Regions from separate parts of the Homo sapiens genome. Here region 2 is linked to region 1. Evidence: promoter capture Hi-C in human tissues and cell types (Jung and others, 2019). All regions are on one chromosome and are shown on one strand. The core of a region is centred on a gene start or on the middle of the fragment in contact, and the rest is flanking DNA. Distances in the headings are between cores, read along the strand shown.

Region 1 (7,892 bases), core at 1-2,500:
GTGCCTGGCCCTTATCCACAACTCTTAAAGTAGGTGCTAATATTTGCAGTAAGTAGATGGAGATGGCTTATCTTTCGCTGAGTTAGCTTGGTCTGATTTGAGCTGGCAATACACTGCCTTCCAGGTCATTGTCCTGCCTGTGGGTCTTTGCACATCCAGACCACACTTCCTTCCTCTTTACCTAAATCTACCTCTTTCTCATCCTTGGAGAGAAGTATTTGCACCCTTCCTTTGCCCTCAGTCTTTCTTTTTTATTTTTTCATTTCATTTCATTTATTATTATTATTATTATTATTTTTTTTTTGAGACAGAATCTCACAGTCACCTAGGCTGGAGTGCAGTGGAATGATCATGGTTCACTGTAGCCTCAAACTCCTGGGCTCAAGCAATCCTCCCACCTCAGCTTCCCGAGAAGCTGGGACTACAGGTGTGCACCAACAAGCCCGGCTAATTTTTGTAGGTCTCGCTATGTTGCCCAGGCTGGTCTCCAACTCCTGGGCTCAAACGATCCTCCCGCCTTGGCCTCCCTAAGTGCTGGGACTGTAGGCATGAGCCACCGTGCCTGGCCATGCCCAATCTTTCTTACTGCAGTTGGTGATACATGGTTTTTGTTTTCTCTATACATGTATTTTTTGGTGGTGTGTTTAATATCTGTCTTTTCCCAGACTGTCGCCTCCGTGAAAGCAGGAACCTTGTCAGTTTTCTCTCCAAGTTATCCCTCCAACGCCTAGCACAGTGCCTGGCAAATGTAGGAGCTCAACAGGGTTTGCGGAATTATTATGTGTATGTCTGAAGGAAGGATGTTGGCAGTGCGCCCAACGTGTGAGGGGAACCCCACTCTCCAAGGTTCCAGTGGCTTTAAAGGTGTCCTCGAGAAAATCAGAGGAACAGGGGGATGCTTGTTTTCCTTCCTTCCTTCTCTCTCTCTCTCTCTCTCTCTCTCTCTCTCTCTCTCTCTCTCTCTCTCTCTCTCTCTTTTTTGCTTTAAAGTATGCTGAAAGGACACTTTAAACCAAGTCTGAATGGCTCGGCAGGACTGGGGCGCGGGTGCTGGCAGGAGCCGGAGAGGCGACATCTGGCCATGGGAGCATTTGTTTCAAAGTTCAAGGCCGTTCGCTCAGGGTCAAGGTTAGTCCGGCGGGCCGTTCGGAGACCAGCCCCAGCGTGCCAGGACCGTTTCCGGGGCCTGGCCGGGGCGTTGCCGCGGGGTCGGGGACCAGCACGAGTGCTGAGTCACGCCCCGCCCGGGAGCGCCTCGGGTCAGTAACTCGGGAAGACGACCAAGCGGGAGCGGGAGCGGGAGCGGGAGCCGGAGCGAGAGCGCGCGGGCGCGGCCGACAGGTGAGATCGCGCCGCCAGGCGGGCTCTCGAGACCCCGGGCGCCCCGGGCGGGACCGGGACCCGGAAGAGGGGCGAGCGGATTAGAGGCCTGGCTCACGCCGCGTCTGGCGTGGGGAGGTCGGTGCGCGCAGTTGTGGCGCTGCGAGGAGAGGGATACTCGACTCAGGCCCGCCCCTCTCTGTCTCCCCCAAAAAACGCAACAGGGAGATGTGCTCCTGGCCGAGGGCAAAGAAAACTCCACCCTCCTGGTTTGGCCCCTAAATCCCTGCTAAGTTTTCCTAAGGAAGATGGGCTTAGGCCGGGAAGGGCGAACCGGGGAAGAGGGAACACGGGGCGGGTGTAACCCGGATCTTGCGAGGACCGTCCGAGGGTCCGCTGGGTAGAAGCGGCCGGTCCGGACAGAAGCAGGTGTGAGAGGAAAGGGAGAAACCTCAGTCTCTAAGAGGAAAGAAACTGGAGTCAACCCAGTGCCCATAGGCTCGGGGGAGCTGGGGGGTGCAGCACTAGGAAGTCTGCTTCTCCCTTCCCGAAGCCCTGGGTGCTGCAGGGACAAAGACCAGCGGTGAGTAAACTAACTCTGATGGGACGCGTGCAGTCCACCTGGAACTGAATTAGTGGCCTATATTGGGGCTCTCCTTCCAACACCACCTGATCAACACACCCTACCTTTCCCTACAAGGAGAGTCTTTTTGACCCTGGAATTTAAGGTGAGGATGGGGAGTGGTGAGGTCTCTTGGGGGCTGATGATCCTGTAGGAGGACAGGCATAGGGCAGAGAGTCAGATATAGTTTGGGATGGGACTTGCAGGTTTCTGGACTGTGCACCTGTGTTCAAAAGCCTGTATCAGGTTCCAGTGTGCGTGCATGCACCTGCCAGAGAGCCCCGGGATCTCAGATCACACCTGCCCTCACCCCAGCACCTAGAGAGGAGTTCTCCAAGGAGCACAGTGTGTCACCAAGAAGAGGGCACTGAGCCCCAGCCAGGGTGGGCTGGGCAGGCTTAGCACTACCTAGCCCAGAAGTGATGGGCTGGGCAGGCCGGTGGACTCCAGGGCCAGCCTGACTTTTGTCTGGTGGCCAAATGAAGCCAGCGTCCAGGTACAGGTGGTGGGCAGACCATGGGGACCACAAAACTGGCTCTGAGGAGGATGGACAAATTGCTTGGCCTAGGTTTTCTGTGCGGGAGTGAATATGACATCCAGATGAACCTGTCTGCCCCAGAGCTGCCCTCCCCTGGGGATAAAAGGAGGCTGCCTCCCTTAGACTTTGAGTCCCTTTTCAGAAACTGGTCTTTTGGGGGTTCTGTTCTTCAAGTAGTCCCTGAGGGGCTGGCCATGGAGTGTCCCAGGAAGGGAGGCCGCCCAACCGTCTCCATCCTGCTGTGTCCCGCAGGTGGAGGAAACCTCCATGGTGCTGTGAGTCGTGCTGTAGTGGCCTTCTTATCCGGGACGGCCACTCTGGGAATGTGGCTCTCCAGAGGCTGATGTTGAAACCTACCCTTTGTGTGAGCCATGACGACTCAAAAAGCATCGTGTTTTATTTGTAATATTTGTGAAGCAATACTGGAGCAACTCTGGGATGACATTCTTGCTTTGATCAGAGCCCACACGGTTCCTGCTGTGTGTCTTCTGAGGCACAACCTCTGAACAGCTTTGGCATAAATGTAACTTCCTGGTTTTTCAGTAGTCCTATGGGCTGCTTATTGTGGAATAATACCCTTGAGATCAGGGTGGATGCTCTTGGCAGAGAAAACAGGATTGACTGAGCAAATTTTTGTGTAAATCAGATTGTGTGTGTGTGTGTCTGTGTGTATGTGTGTTGTGGCAGGGAGCAAAGGTAAAGTTACTGAGGGGTTCCTGGACAATCAGGGTTTGTTCCGCTCTCTTAGGCCTTCTTTTAAGCTAACATTCTTGAACCTAGACAGACATAGTTAAGATTCTCTGTGATTCCCACTGGGGCTTTGGTGTTCAGTTCAAAATCAGATGGTGGATTTAGCAGTTCCTCAAAAAGTTAAACTTCAAGTTACCATATGACCCAGCAATTCCATACCTAAATATATACTAAAGAGGACTGAAGACTGGTTCACACAAAAACCTGTACACAAATGTTCATAGTGGCGTTATTCACATAGTCAAAAGGTGGAAACAACCCAAGTGCCCGTCAGCTGATGAGTGGATAAACAAAATGTGGTCTATTCATACACCAGTAATGGACTGTTTTTCAGCCAGGAAAAGGAATGAAGCACTGATAACATGCTACAACTCGGATGAACCTTGAAAACATGATGATCAGTGGAAGACGTCGCAAACAAAAAGCCACATAGTGTATAATTCCATCTACATGAATTGTCTAGAACAGACAAATCTATAGAGACAGAAAGAACATTAGTAGCTACCCAGGGCTAGGGTAGGTGGGGTACAGGATTTATTTTGGGGGTGATGGAAGTGTTCTGGAATTAGATAGTTGTGATGGTTGCACAACCTGGTGAATACACTAAAACCCACTGAACTTACATCTTTTTTTGAAATTTAAATTAAAAAAAATTTTTTTTTGAGACAGAGTCTTGCTCTGGCGCCCAGGCTAGAGTGCAGTGGCATGATCATGCCTCACTGCAACCTCGACCTCCTAGGCTCAAGCGATCCTCCCACCTCAGCCTCCTGATATCAGGGACCACAGGCATGTGCCACCATGCCTGGCTAATTTTTGTATTTTTTGTAGAGATGGGGTTTCACCATATTGCCCAGGCTGGTCTGGAACTCCGGAGCTCAAGCAATCTGCCTGCATTGGCCTCCCAAAGTGTTGGGATTAGAGGTGTGAGTCAGCCTACATCTCATTTTTTTTTTTTAAAAGATGGGGTCTCATCTAGGCTGGAGTGCAGTGGTGCAATCATAGCTCACTGTGAACTTACATCTTAAGTGGTAAATTGTATATGTGAATTCTATTTTGATTAAAAAATTAGATGGTAAGCGGTCTGTCCTATTATTAAAGACATTATTTCTGCAAAAATGACATATGCTTGTTTGAAAAAAATTCAAACAATACAAAAGCTTAAGGAAGAAAATGAAAACATTATCTATGACCACTATTAGCACTTTGGTTCAGACAGCAGGTTTGATGTGTTGAGAATTGAACTTGGGCAAGTTGTTGAACTTTTTTCCAAAATAAGGAGAAAAAACTCATACCTTAAATCGAAGATATGGGCAAAAGTGCAACAGATGCTAACTGCTGTAATCATTACCTGTATATGTGTATACATACCGAGGTGGATGTGTCTTATTGGCCATAAATGGGATTAGATCTTTCATGTGGTTCTGTGGCCTGACTTTTTGGGACTGGGCAAACTAATCTGCAACATATATTTTATATATATATATATAAAACGTGGCTGCTGTGTATTCATTGCTACTCTGTGCCAGGCACCATGCTAAAATGCTTTACGTAAATGATCTCATTGAATCTTTTCTACAGCTCGAAATCACAGTGGCTTACCCCTGTAATTCCAGTGCTTCGGGAGGCTAAGGCAGGAGGATCCCTTGAGGGGCTAGGAGTTCAAGATCAGCCTAGGCAACATAGTGAGACCCTCATCTCTACAAAAAAAAAAAAAAAAATTAGCCAGCTCAGGAGTTCAAGGTTATAATGAGTTATGATCATGCCACTGCATTCTGGCCTGGGTGATAGAGCAAGACCCTGTCCCTAAGAAAATTAAAAATAAGTAAATAAATAAATAAATATTGCCTGACTTTTTCTTTTCTTTTTTTTACTTTTGAGACAGGGTCTCACATTGTTGCCCAGGCCGAAGTGCAGTGGTATGAAGCACTGATCCATGCTACAACTTGGATGAACCTTGAAAACATGTTTTGTGTAAATCAGATTGTGTATGTGTGTCTTTGTGTGTGTGTGTTGTGGGAGGGAGCAAAGGTAAAGTTACTCACTGCAGCCTCAAACTCCTGGGCTCAAGCAGTCCTCCTGCCTTTGCCTCCTGAAGTGCTAGGATTATAGGCAGGAGCCACCACACCCAGCCCTTGCCTGACTTTTTCATGGACAGACTTTTTGTATAAAAACGTCATTCACAGGCTGGGCACAGTGGCTCGCACCTATAATCCCAGCACTTTGGGAGGTCGAGGCAGGCCGATCACTTGAGGTCAGGAGTTCGAGACCAGCCTGGCCGACACGGCGAAACCCTGACTCTACTAAAAATACAAAAAACAATTAGCCGGGCATGATGGCACATGCCTGTAGTTCCAGCTACCTGGGAGGCTGAGGCAGGAGAATTGCTTGAACTCAGGAGGCAGATGTTGCAGTCAGTGAGCTGAAATTGAGCCACTGTACTCCAGCCTGTGCAATAGAGTGAGACTCCATCTCAAAAACAAAACAAAACATCACTCACCCTTTAAAAACAACTGGCTACACAGTACTGCATTGTATGGGTTTATAATATTTTATCCTGTAGCCTCTCATTGGTGGCAGTTTCCATTGATTGATGGAGTGTCACACAGGTGGAGGTTTGCACAGCACTACTGCTATGTTAGAACATACAACTGGGCATCCACTAATTCCATACGTGCATTTTCATCTCCTACAGGGTGTGTGGCTGGAAATGCAGCTCCATGGCTTAAGCCCTTGCTTTAGGTGTCTGGCCAAGTAGATCATGGCCAAGCAGAGGGGAGTTCACTGTTTTCTGGGGCCAGGCAAGAACCGACACTGGCAGAGCCAAAGAGAGTCGGCATGTCCAAGAGTATTGGGCAAGGGGCTGCCAAAGAGGCAGGGTGAAATCTGCTGGAGAGTCACTGGCCTCCCTATTCCACAAGTAAGCGTGGCAGGGGTCAGTAGAGGAGAGAGAAGAGAGAGAGAGCAGATTGCAGGAGAGGCCTCAGGCAGCCTGAAGAGGAAAAGTGCCTCCCCTCCCTGGCCCTGCTCTGGTCTGGGTGTCCCCTCAGGCCCCAGGCCCTTCACAGGGAACCCCAGATAAGCAATTTGCCTTCCTTGGGTGAGGCAAGAGTTTGCCCTTTCGGGGAAGCAGGTTGATGATACTAGGGGCCTGGGGGTCAAGGGCTTGGCTCCTTTGGTCAACTCATTGCCCCTGAGGTCCACTCTGGGGTCACTAGACTTTCTTTCCCTGGAGGAAACCCCATGAAGGGCCCGGAGCAGGCTTGTATGTCCACCTGATTGTCAAAGCTGCCCTGGCATGGCAGGCTGTCTGTCTGTCGGCCCCTGTCACCTGTCCTCTAAGCCTCTCCACCTTCTGCCACAGGTGCCCTGAACTCTACCTGCCTCCTCCCTTCCTGCCACTGGGCCTCTGGCCCAAGTTGTTTCCTCTGCTAGGAAGGCCCCCTGATCTCAGCTCTTTTTCAGGGCTCTAGGCTGTCCTTTTTGAGTGTCCCTGGGTGCTCCAGTGTGACCTGACGCACAGTGGACTCCCCTGTCCCTATCCCCGGCCAGCTGCGTAGCCCCTCTCAGGGGCCATGCCCAGCTAACTTGGAAGTGGGGCTTTCTGGGTGTTTTCTTGACCTCATCCCTGGCTGACAGCCCCAAGGGTAAGACCCAGCACAGAGGGTTGCACGCTGCCAGGGGCTGGTGAAACACACGCCACCCACGGCCTGCCTCATCACTGCCTACATTCTCAGGCCCTGCGCAGCTCCTGGTGTGCACTGCTACCTCTGGCTGGGCCTGTGGGCCCTCCTGGGTCCTGGTCCCTAGGAGACATTCCCTTCTGGCCCAGTTGGCAGATTCAGCCTGAGGTACGCTTGGGATTAGCTCTAGACAACCCTTCTGAGGGCTTAGAGGAGCCAGGGTGGCCCTGCCTGCCGGGGGGTTGTCTTGGGTCCTAATCTCTACGAGGGCTCAGCCTCCTCATCTGTGAAATGGGTATGTTCAAGCCTCAATGCTTTGGGGACCATTTGACCCACGAGAAACAACTTTAAATTCCCTCCAATCCATTGTGTCAGTGCCCTCCGTCCGCTCTACTGTCCGCCCCCAGGGGAGAAGTTAGGCAGTGGGCATTTGAACACCAATGGGAACAGTGCCCGGAGTTCTAACCAAAAGCTGCCCCATAAGTGTGGGATGATTTGGGGACCGTCTTGGGGAACCACCACCATGTCTTGGAAACCAGTGTGTACGAGGACAGCTCAGGATATTATAGCTGGTTGGGCCTTATAGTCCCCTCCCATTATAGGGGGTAAATTGAGGCCTAGAGAGGGAAGGGGTTGTGCCCCAGACCCGCAAAGATGATCAGGGCAGTGCAGTGGCCTTCCAGCGGCCTGAGGGTCCCAGATGAGCTGGAACACACTTCCTTATGAGGCTGTTCAGTGGCTTGATGTCTATCCTTCAAGGTTGACCTCAGAGTCTACTTCCTCCTTCGCTGACACCCGCTCCAGTCCCCCTTCCTGAAGCCCACAGCAGCTGTTGAGCCTCTGGGGCTGCTTTCTGTATAGTGTGAGTTTTGTTTCTTTTTCTCAGCATCTCCCCCCAGCAGCCTGGCTTATTTCTGCCTCTCTTTAGGGCTCAGCACAGGCCAGGAGGAGGGTTGATTGCTTGTCACCTCTCAGGGTCTCA
Region 2 (7,892 bases), core at 3,364-5,863, 640 kb before region 1:
CCACAGTGCTGGCTTGGCGTTTCAGAGGTCTCTGCTCTGCCAAGCATTATCCTTTCCACCACTGAGGTGCTGGAAGCCAGTTTGGTGGGGACAGGGAAGAGATCCTGGAGAAGGGGCTGGGGCTGCCAGTGCAGGGCAGAGAGACTTGGAAGGCTGGCTGCTGCTCTCTTTGCCACCCTCTCCAGGGAGTAGTTTGATTTCTTAATAACAGGCCCATCTGTATCTCCTCAGCTTCAGTCTTGGCCTCAGGGACCTAAAAGAGGCAAAGCTAGATTAAACCATGTGCATCTTGGCACAGGTAACCAAATATTCTCCAGCATCCCCTAGAAATGCCACAGGCTAGGACATCAACATCAGCCCCTGCTAGAAGGAAAGCAATGCCCCACCCCCGCACCCCACCCACTGCCACAACCACCACCCATGGTGTGAATCCAGATCCTTCTCCCTCCAGGGCACCGCCTCCCCCTTTCCCTTTAAGATCCAGGCAGGGAGGCCAGGAAGGAGAGCAGACTCCTCTACCAAGGCCTGGTGGCACAGGGAGGGGAGGAGGGCCCCTGACTTCAGTTGGCAGGACCTTGTCCCCTCCTCCCAGAAGCCTGGAAGAAGGAGTTGAAGGAGCTAGCTTCCCGGGTGGCCTTCCTCACCAAGGAGGATGAACTGAAGAAGAAAGAGGTGGGTGCGGAACACAGGAGCTAGTCTGGGAAGAGGAGAAACGGATCCTTCCCTGTGTAAGGAGATCCCTCCCGAGTCAGTTCAGCCTACCAGAGGTGGGGTGGGGGGACTGATTCATACAAACGTCAGGGGAAAGGTCACAGTGAGGGAGAGAGCACACCTAGGTGGAGAAATCCAAGCAGGGGTTTTAGGACAGGAGGCACTTGGGGGCCTTCGATATCTAAGTGAGATGTTCACAAGGGGACTGAGGAGTTCCGAGCAGAGGCACCTAGCACAGCAGCTCAAAAGCTGGCAAATGCAGGGCACCATCAGAAACCAGGCTATAAGTGGGCAGCAATGGGAAAGGTGAGGGGGGGCAGACTTTGCATGTGGGGAGGAGCAGCTTGTTCTTAATTGCCAAGATTTTTAGTGTCTAATCGCATAAGGAGCAGAGAATCTCGGAAGGTTTTCAAACATGATAGGGGTGACCCCATGGGTGCCATTTGATGATAAAACAGTAAAGTCACCTGAGAGGCAGCTTGAAGGTGACTGGAATTGCTCTTAGGACAGTCTGGTCCTGCCCCTTGTCTTGGGTAACCAGAGTGGACAGGCAGAGGCCCGGCTTCTCATTCCTGCTCACAACTAACTCACTGCAGCACTCAGGACAACTCAGCTAAGCTGTCTGGGTCTCTGTTTTCTTATCTTTAAAATGGGGGGAAGGATACTACCAGTCTTAATTGGAATTGCAAGAGCAGGAGGCCCCAGGCACCAGGCCTCTCTGGGACAGACCTGGGGGCAGCTGAGCTGGGAATTAAGGTAGGCGGTGGGCCCTTGGTGCAGGATGCTGTTTTCAAATCTCTGATGGGTGTGGGGAGGAGCAGCAAGGAGGACCTACCTGGGAGGGAGAACGAGAACCACCCGCGGGCATCCAGCGATCGACCCTGCATTACTGAGTTCCAGGAGGAAGAGCTTTTGCTGGTTTAAGCGTGATAGCTGATAGTGGAAGGGCCAGCTGCCAGAGAGAGGGCCGGGGATGCCCAAGGAGGGGTCTAGGGCAGGTGAGGTTGGGGGGGTGGCAGAGCTGGATGATACCCTGGGACCCTGGCAACGCTGTGATGCTGGGATTTGGGAGGCGAAGTGCCCTGGGATTGTGACCCGGCCTCCTGCTCCTCTCCTCCCCTCAGCCCTCTTCCTCCCCTCTTGCTGACTGCCTGGAGTCTCTGGCCACTTTTGTCCCAGCAGAAGGAGCAGAAGGAGGAGCCTCTGCGGGAGCAGGGGGCAAAGTACTCAGCAGAGACTGGGAGGCTCATCCCCGCTTCCACCCGGGCTGTCGGCCGCCGCAGATCTCACCAGGGCCAGCAGAGTCAGTCTTCCAGCAGACATGAAGGAGTCCAGGCTTTCCTCCTTCAGGATCAGGAGCTGCTGGTGAGGGCCCAGTTCTGCTCCCAGGCTCCTGGCTCTCCACATTAGGGGTCTTACAAACCGCTTTAGGGCAAGGCCCCTCCCAGGGATACTGGTGCCTAGGACTGTTAAGAACAGAAAACTCCAGCCCTGTGGAGTCAGCAGCAGGGGCTATGACCCCCTGCTGCCTCTAGGTTTCCATGTGAGTCCTTTCCCCTCCCTGGGCCCTAGTTCCGTGATCTCTCCACTGGAAGCATGAACGCACTGTTGTCGAGGGTCCCTTCCAGCTGTAGCATTTGCTGAGTTAGTGAAGGGAGCTGCAATGGTGGGTTGAAGAAGGAGGTCCTGCCCATCACAGCAGGCCGCACCCCACAGCCTGCATGGCTAGGCCCAGCCTGGTGTCCACACTCAGCGAGGGGCCTGGCTTGTGCTTCAGTGAGCCCAGAGCCCACCTCCTCCATGCTCACGTTTCCCCACTGAGGCCTGAGATGAGTCCATGCCTCATCCCGGTGGGTGAAGGCGTCAGAGGTCCCTGTGAAAATGCACGGATGTCCTCCAAGAAAGGCCAGAGGTAGACCCAGCATTCTGCCACCTTCCTTGTGACCAGCACTGTCAGGCACACACTCCCTCTGAAACCTTACCACAATGCAGCAAAGTGGATAGAGCAGACAGGGTTCAGCACCTCCATGCCACGGATGGGGAGGCCGAGGCCCTGCCAAGTGATAGTCCATGGGCCAGGTCCCCTGAGACGGAGCAGCATAGCCAGGACTAAGGTGCTTTCTCCACCATAGGGCGGCCTCACCTCACCTGGAATTAGGTTCTCAGGTCCTGTGGGGAGGGGGCACAAGGCAGGTAAGTTGGACACAGAGAATGGAGAAGGGCCCAGGGGCAGGTCAGGGTGGGTCAGCACAGCGGGTGGGCATCTGGGGACGAGGGTGGACCCCTAAGCAGGCAGAGGCCTGGGGAGAGGCCCAGCCCAGATTCCACTCTGCTGAGGATGAGGCCGACCTGCTGGGGACCGACGGGCCCCTCCAGGTCCTAGGATGACTGACCGCCAGGAGCTGAGGGGGCCTCACTTTCTTAGGACTCCAGGGCTTCCACCTTTCACCTCAGGCCCCAACTCCAGCCTGCCATAGCTACAGCCACCAGCAGCAGTCTGGCCTAGGGAGCCCCCATAGCCCATCCCAGACACAGCTGGATCTTTTCCTGATGCTAACTGACTGGAGAACGCAGGGGAAAATGAGCCCGGAAGTAGCAAAGATGTCAAAGACTGAGGATGCAGCAAGGAGCCAAGCATGCCCACAGCTCTGCAGGAGGGAGCCGGTGCTGAGCAGTTTGCAGAACCGGCCTGTGCTGCCCCGCCTCAGGCTGCCCTCTGGGCTTCCCCCATCCCTTTTCCAACATCCCCAGACTCTGGGACTTTTAGGGTATGGCTTACCATGGGGTTCCTGAAATCCCCACACCAAGGCCCTGGGCATGTGGGATTTGGTGTGTCTCTGAGGAGCTGACTGGCCAGCTCGGACCTTGGCTTCCCAGTGAGGGGGCCCTAGGGAATAACCAGCCAAGCAGGCTTCAGGGATGTGGGGTCCACAGAACCTTTCGCTGAGGTCGTGTCCTGCCACCAACTACCTGCTAGCATCCCCTCTCAGGGCCTCGGATTCTCCACCCGTCCAGCAGGAAGATTAAGAATCTTCCTCCTGGACTGTTGTGAGACAAAGCCCTCCGTTAAGTGCAAAGCCCAATGTGGAGGAAAAGGCACAGACCCTTGTGGGAACACGTTTAGCCCAGCAGGCGCCTCTGGGAGCCCACTTTGGGGGAAGGGTCTCCTTGGTGCCCTCCAAACCTACATTTGCCTGTACTCCTTGCCTGTACTCCTGGCTGGAATGTGCTGGCCTCCTGCCCACAGGTCCTGGAGCTCCTGTGTCGGATCCTGGAAACAGACTTGCTAAGCGCAATCCAGTTCTGGCTGCTCTACGCTCCGCCCAAGGGTGAGGACACAGCCCCGCAGCACTGTCTCAGTGGAGGCTGCCAAGGTCCTGCCCTTGATCTCTGGTTCTGCAGGACTCAAATGTCCCTCAGCTCCCACCCTGGAGGGGGCCTTCCATGGAGGCCTCTCCTCCACTTTGGAGCCCCAAACTAACCCTTCCCAGCTGGACAGCATCTCTGCTTCCTCCTCCCCAATTCCTCAGCAGGATTTCCTTACCCCTGCTCCTTGGAGGGGACCCCTCTTTCATGCTGACCCCAGGCCTAGGCACCTGGGAGGAAAAAATCCAAAGACTGAACTTAGCAGACACAGCCCCTCACACGTTGCATTGGGAGACCCCCACACACACACAGGTGCAAGTAGATGCACATAAGGCTACTCATGTGTATACACATGAACACAGGAATACACACGCGGACGCACTGGGACAGTGGGTAGGGGGTGCATCTGAGTAGAAGGGTGAGGAGTGATGAGAACCAGGAAGCTAATTGGAGAAGACTTCCTGGACAGGAGAGTGAAGGAGAAGGGGGAGGAGGAAGGCAGGTCCCCAGTAGACTTCCCAGCGTGGGCCCGGGGATATGGTGGGCAGGAGGGCCAGCTGGGGCCAAGAACAAGGCGTACACATCCTCATGTGGCAGGACAGGGATGTGAAAGGGCTAGGGGCTCTGCACACATGGGCCAGGAGAGAAGGGGGAGCTCTCCCGAGGGGACCTGAGGGCAGAAGGTGGGATGCTTAGAGAAAGCTGCCCTGGATGGAGGCCCTGCTTCTGGCCCCGCCACAGGGACAGGAAGGGGGCTGGGGGCTGAGGACACTGCCCCCGGGCTGTGCTTTCAGAAAAAGACCTCGCTCTGGGACTCCTGCAGACAGCAGTGGCTCAGCTCCTTCCCCAGCCCCTAGTCTCCATCCCTACAGAAAAGCTCCTAAGCCAGCTTCCAGAAGTGCATGAACCTCCTCAAGAGAAGCAAGAGCCACCCTGCAGGTGGGCCCCGCACCCCGCCCTGCCCTTCTGCAGCCTTCTGTCCTCCCAGGTGAGGCCAGTGGGACCTGGAGAAGGGAGCCTGGCGCTGACCAGGGTCTGGGCTGACTAAGTCTGTCCTGGAGGCAGAGGCCCAGCCCCTCCCCCAGGGACCTTCTAGTGCTACCCAAGCCACTTCAAGGCCAACACAGCCAGACCAGCCCCCAAACTGCCAGGGCTGGGGACACCCCAAGGGGGCCACCGGAGTCAATTTTAACCAGATAAGGCTGGATTAGCCACACCTAACTCTTCAGAAGCTCTTTGGTCTATGGGAAGACATGAGTAGAGAGAAAATGCTAACACAAGGCAGTGGTTTTATACCAGTACTAAGTGCCCTGATGGCTGGAAGAGAAAGATTAATTACGAACTGGGGGAGGCCTCACAAGGCAGGTGAGTGGAGCCTGAGAGTCAGCAAGGCCACTGAGCAGCGATAAGTTTGCCTGACACCGCTGGGTGTTCCACGTTTTTCTAGTCCATCCAACAACCCACTGAGGCAGTATTAGCTCCATTTTACAGATGGGAAAACTGAGGCTCAGGAACAATAGAATGGCCTACCCAAAGTAACCTGACTGGTCGGCAGAAGGGCTGGGATTCAGTCTTGGACCCGACTGACTCCCAAAGCCAGCAGCACTCAGATTCTCCCCGGGAGCTTGTTAAAAATGCAGACCCCTAAAGATTCTAACATAGCAGGCCGGGGTGAAGCCGGGGGGGCCTGTATTTTTAACAGTCACCTGAGTGTTTCCAACAGAGTTTGGGAAACACTGATAGGAGTGGTAGGATTTGACTGAGCAAATGAAAGCTTGGGAAAAGGTCATCCCGGGAAGTGGGACCAGCCTGGGTGAAGGCATGGAAGTCAGGAAGGTATACAACTGGGGAATGACAAGTTTGAGGTGTCTGGAGCATGGGTGGGCTTGGTGAGAAGAAGCAGGGGTAGGGGTGGACTGAGGTTTCTTGAAGTCATGGGTTCTTGCAAGGCCTTGGACTTGGTGTTCCCTTCCACTCTGAGAGAGCAGAGGAGGAACGGCCTAGCGAGGAAGACAGGCTTCACTGTGACCTTGGGCAAACCACCTCCCAGCTGCGATCATCAGCTTCAACTATCTCTCAAAAGCCCCCTCCCAGAGTCGTAGGGAGGGAAAATAACATCGGGCACATAAAAAGGCATGGGGAGATGTAAAGCCCAATGCAAGACGGAAGAGCATCTTTCATACTTTGAATTCATTCAAGACGCAGGGTTCTTGTCTTGCCCACTCAAAGGGAAGTCCACAAGGAAACCAGTGGAGCGAGTGAGTCAGGGCTAGGGGGAGGGCTGATGCAGAGTCCATGCCCTGTTTCTCCAGAGACAGGAGGGCCTTGCTTCCCAGTGGAACTAACTGCAGACGGCAGGGCCACAGTTGTCTGGGTCTGGCCTGGGGTGATACAGGAAGGCCACCTGGGTGCTAGTCATGGACAGATGTTTTCTGGCCCTCCAGGAGGGGTGACTCTTGCCTCTCCCTGGAGCAGACAGCTGACTGCACCTGCACCACCTTCCCCACCTCCCTGTCTCCCCTGCCACCCGTGGGGTCAGGTTTCCAGCATGACCTTCCCAGCCCCTTCTTTGTATTTGGTCACAGTCAATCCCCGAAGAAAACGAAGATATCACCTTTTACAAAAAGCGAAAAACCAGGTAAGATTCCAAGTAGTGGGTCATTTGGGGGACTCACCAAGGCCCACTCTGGCTGGATTTCTCAGGGGATTCCAGTCAACTTGGAGATGAGTCCCTGCCCAAGGATGCTGCTCATTTCATCTATTCATTCACTTATTCATATTCATTCTTTAACAAATATTTATCGAGCACCCACAATGTGCTGAACTCTGGGGATCAGTGAGGAAGAATTCAGACAAGTTCCTGCTGTCACGGAACTTACATCCCAGCAAGGAGGAATACAGACAACAAATTAAAACACCTGGGGAGGAGTGGAGACAGATACTGTAAGGAGAATAACAAGGCTCTGTGGTCAGTAGTGAGAAGGACTGGCAGGTGGGGAGAGGGCTCCTAGAGCTGAACGGCAGGAAAGATACAGCTCTACCCAAGTCTAGGAAGAGCCAACCAGCAAAGCTCCCACCTCTTGGTGTGCTGGTGGAAAAACAAGCAGACCATGGTGGCTGGGGCCTTCTGGGTGGGGGACAGTGGTAAGGGAGGCATGAGACAGGTGGGAGGAGCTGGCCTGCGGTAAAGGCCAGGTGTGTGCATGGGTGTAGAAGAGGGTTATGAGCAGGGTGTGCATGCCCCCTCTGGCTACTGTGTGCAGCACGGACTATGGGGGACAAGAATGGGTGAGGGAGACCAAGGAGAGGCTGCTGCAGTCATCCTGGTGCCTTAGACTAGAGTGGGGGGCAGGGGTGGCAGCAGGCTGGAGGGGAGAGAAAAGGAAACACATCCTCAATGTATATTATTCTCCCTGATTAGACCATCAAAGGTCCAGAGTGCCTGGCAGAGAGGCACAGAGTAGGCATCTCATTGATATTTGTTACTTGGATGTTGAAAGAAGAGAGGTTGGATTCCATTCGCTCCATTCCTCTCAGGTTGGATTCCCTCCTCGGTCACCAGCAGAGCTGAGAGCAGGAGCTGGGCTTGACTCAGACCTTCCCCTCAGCACTCACACATCCACCTGCAGCTCCCAGGTGGGGGCCCCACCTTCCCGGTCCTCTCCTGCCTGCTGTCTCTCCTCCCACTAGAGTACATTGGAGAAGCTCAAGTCCTCCAGATGCATTCAAGCCAGAACACAGAGAAGAAGACATCGAAGCCGAGGGCAGAGAGCTGAGGGGCCCTAACACTTGCACCTGCCTTGCTCAAGAGCAGC

The links. Contacts are between HindIII fragments. The study calls those that stand out against the background at their distance.
Region 2: a fragment that was not itself captured here is called in contact with the fragment with the promoter of AIFM2 in region 1 in 1 of the 25 tissues and cell types used here (small bowel).

Annotation. Positions count from the first base shown.
Region 1 is chr10:70,126,183-70,134,074 of GRCh38, reverse strand. It overlaps AIFM2 (AIF family member 2), which reads left to right and starts at 1,250. Exons shown (of 9, transcript NM_032797.6): 1 at 1,250-1,341. RefSeq lists silencers at 1,076-1,395, 1,228-1,437 and an enhancer at 959-1,459. The HindIII fragment of the contact is 11,395 bases long and covers 1-6,328 here.
Region 2 is chr10:70,771,337-70,779,228 of GRCh38, reverse strand. TBATA (thymus, brain and testes associated) reads left to right here. Exons shown (of 11, transcript NM_001318241.2): 6 at 593-672; 7 at 1,891-2,076; 8 at 3,959-4,040; 9 at 4,872-5,016; 10 at 6,663-6,715; 11 at 7,768-7,892. The coding sequence ends at 7,853. Among named protein-coding and RNA genes, the nearest start is that of TBATA, 10 kb to the left of the region's middle. RefSeq lists a silencer at 2,701-2,882 and an enhancer at 2,151-2,978. The HindIII fragment of the contact is 6,791 bases long and covers 1,218-7,892 here.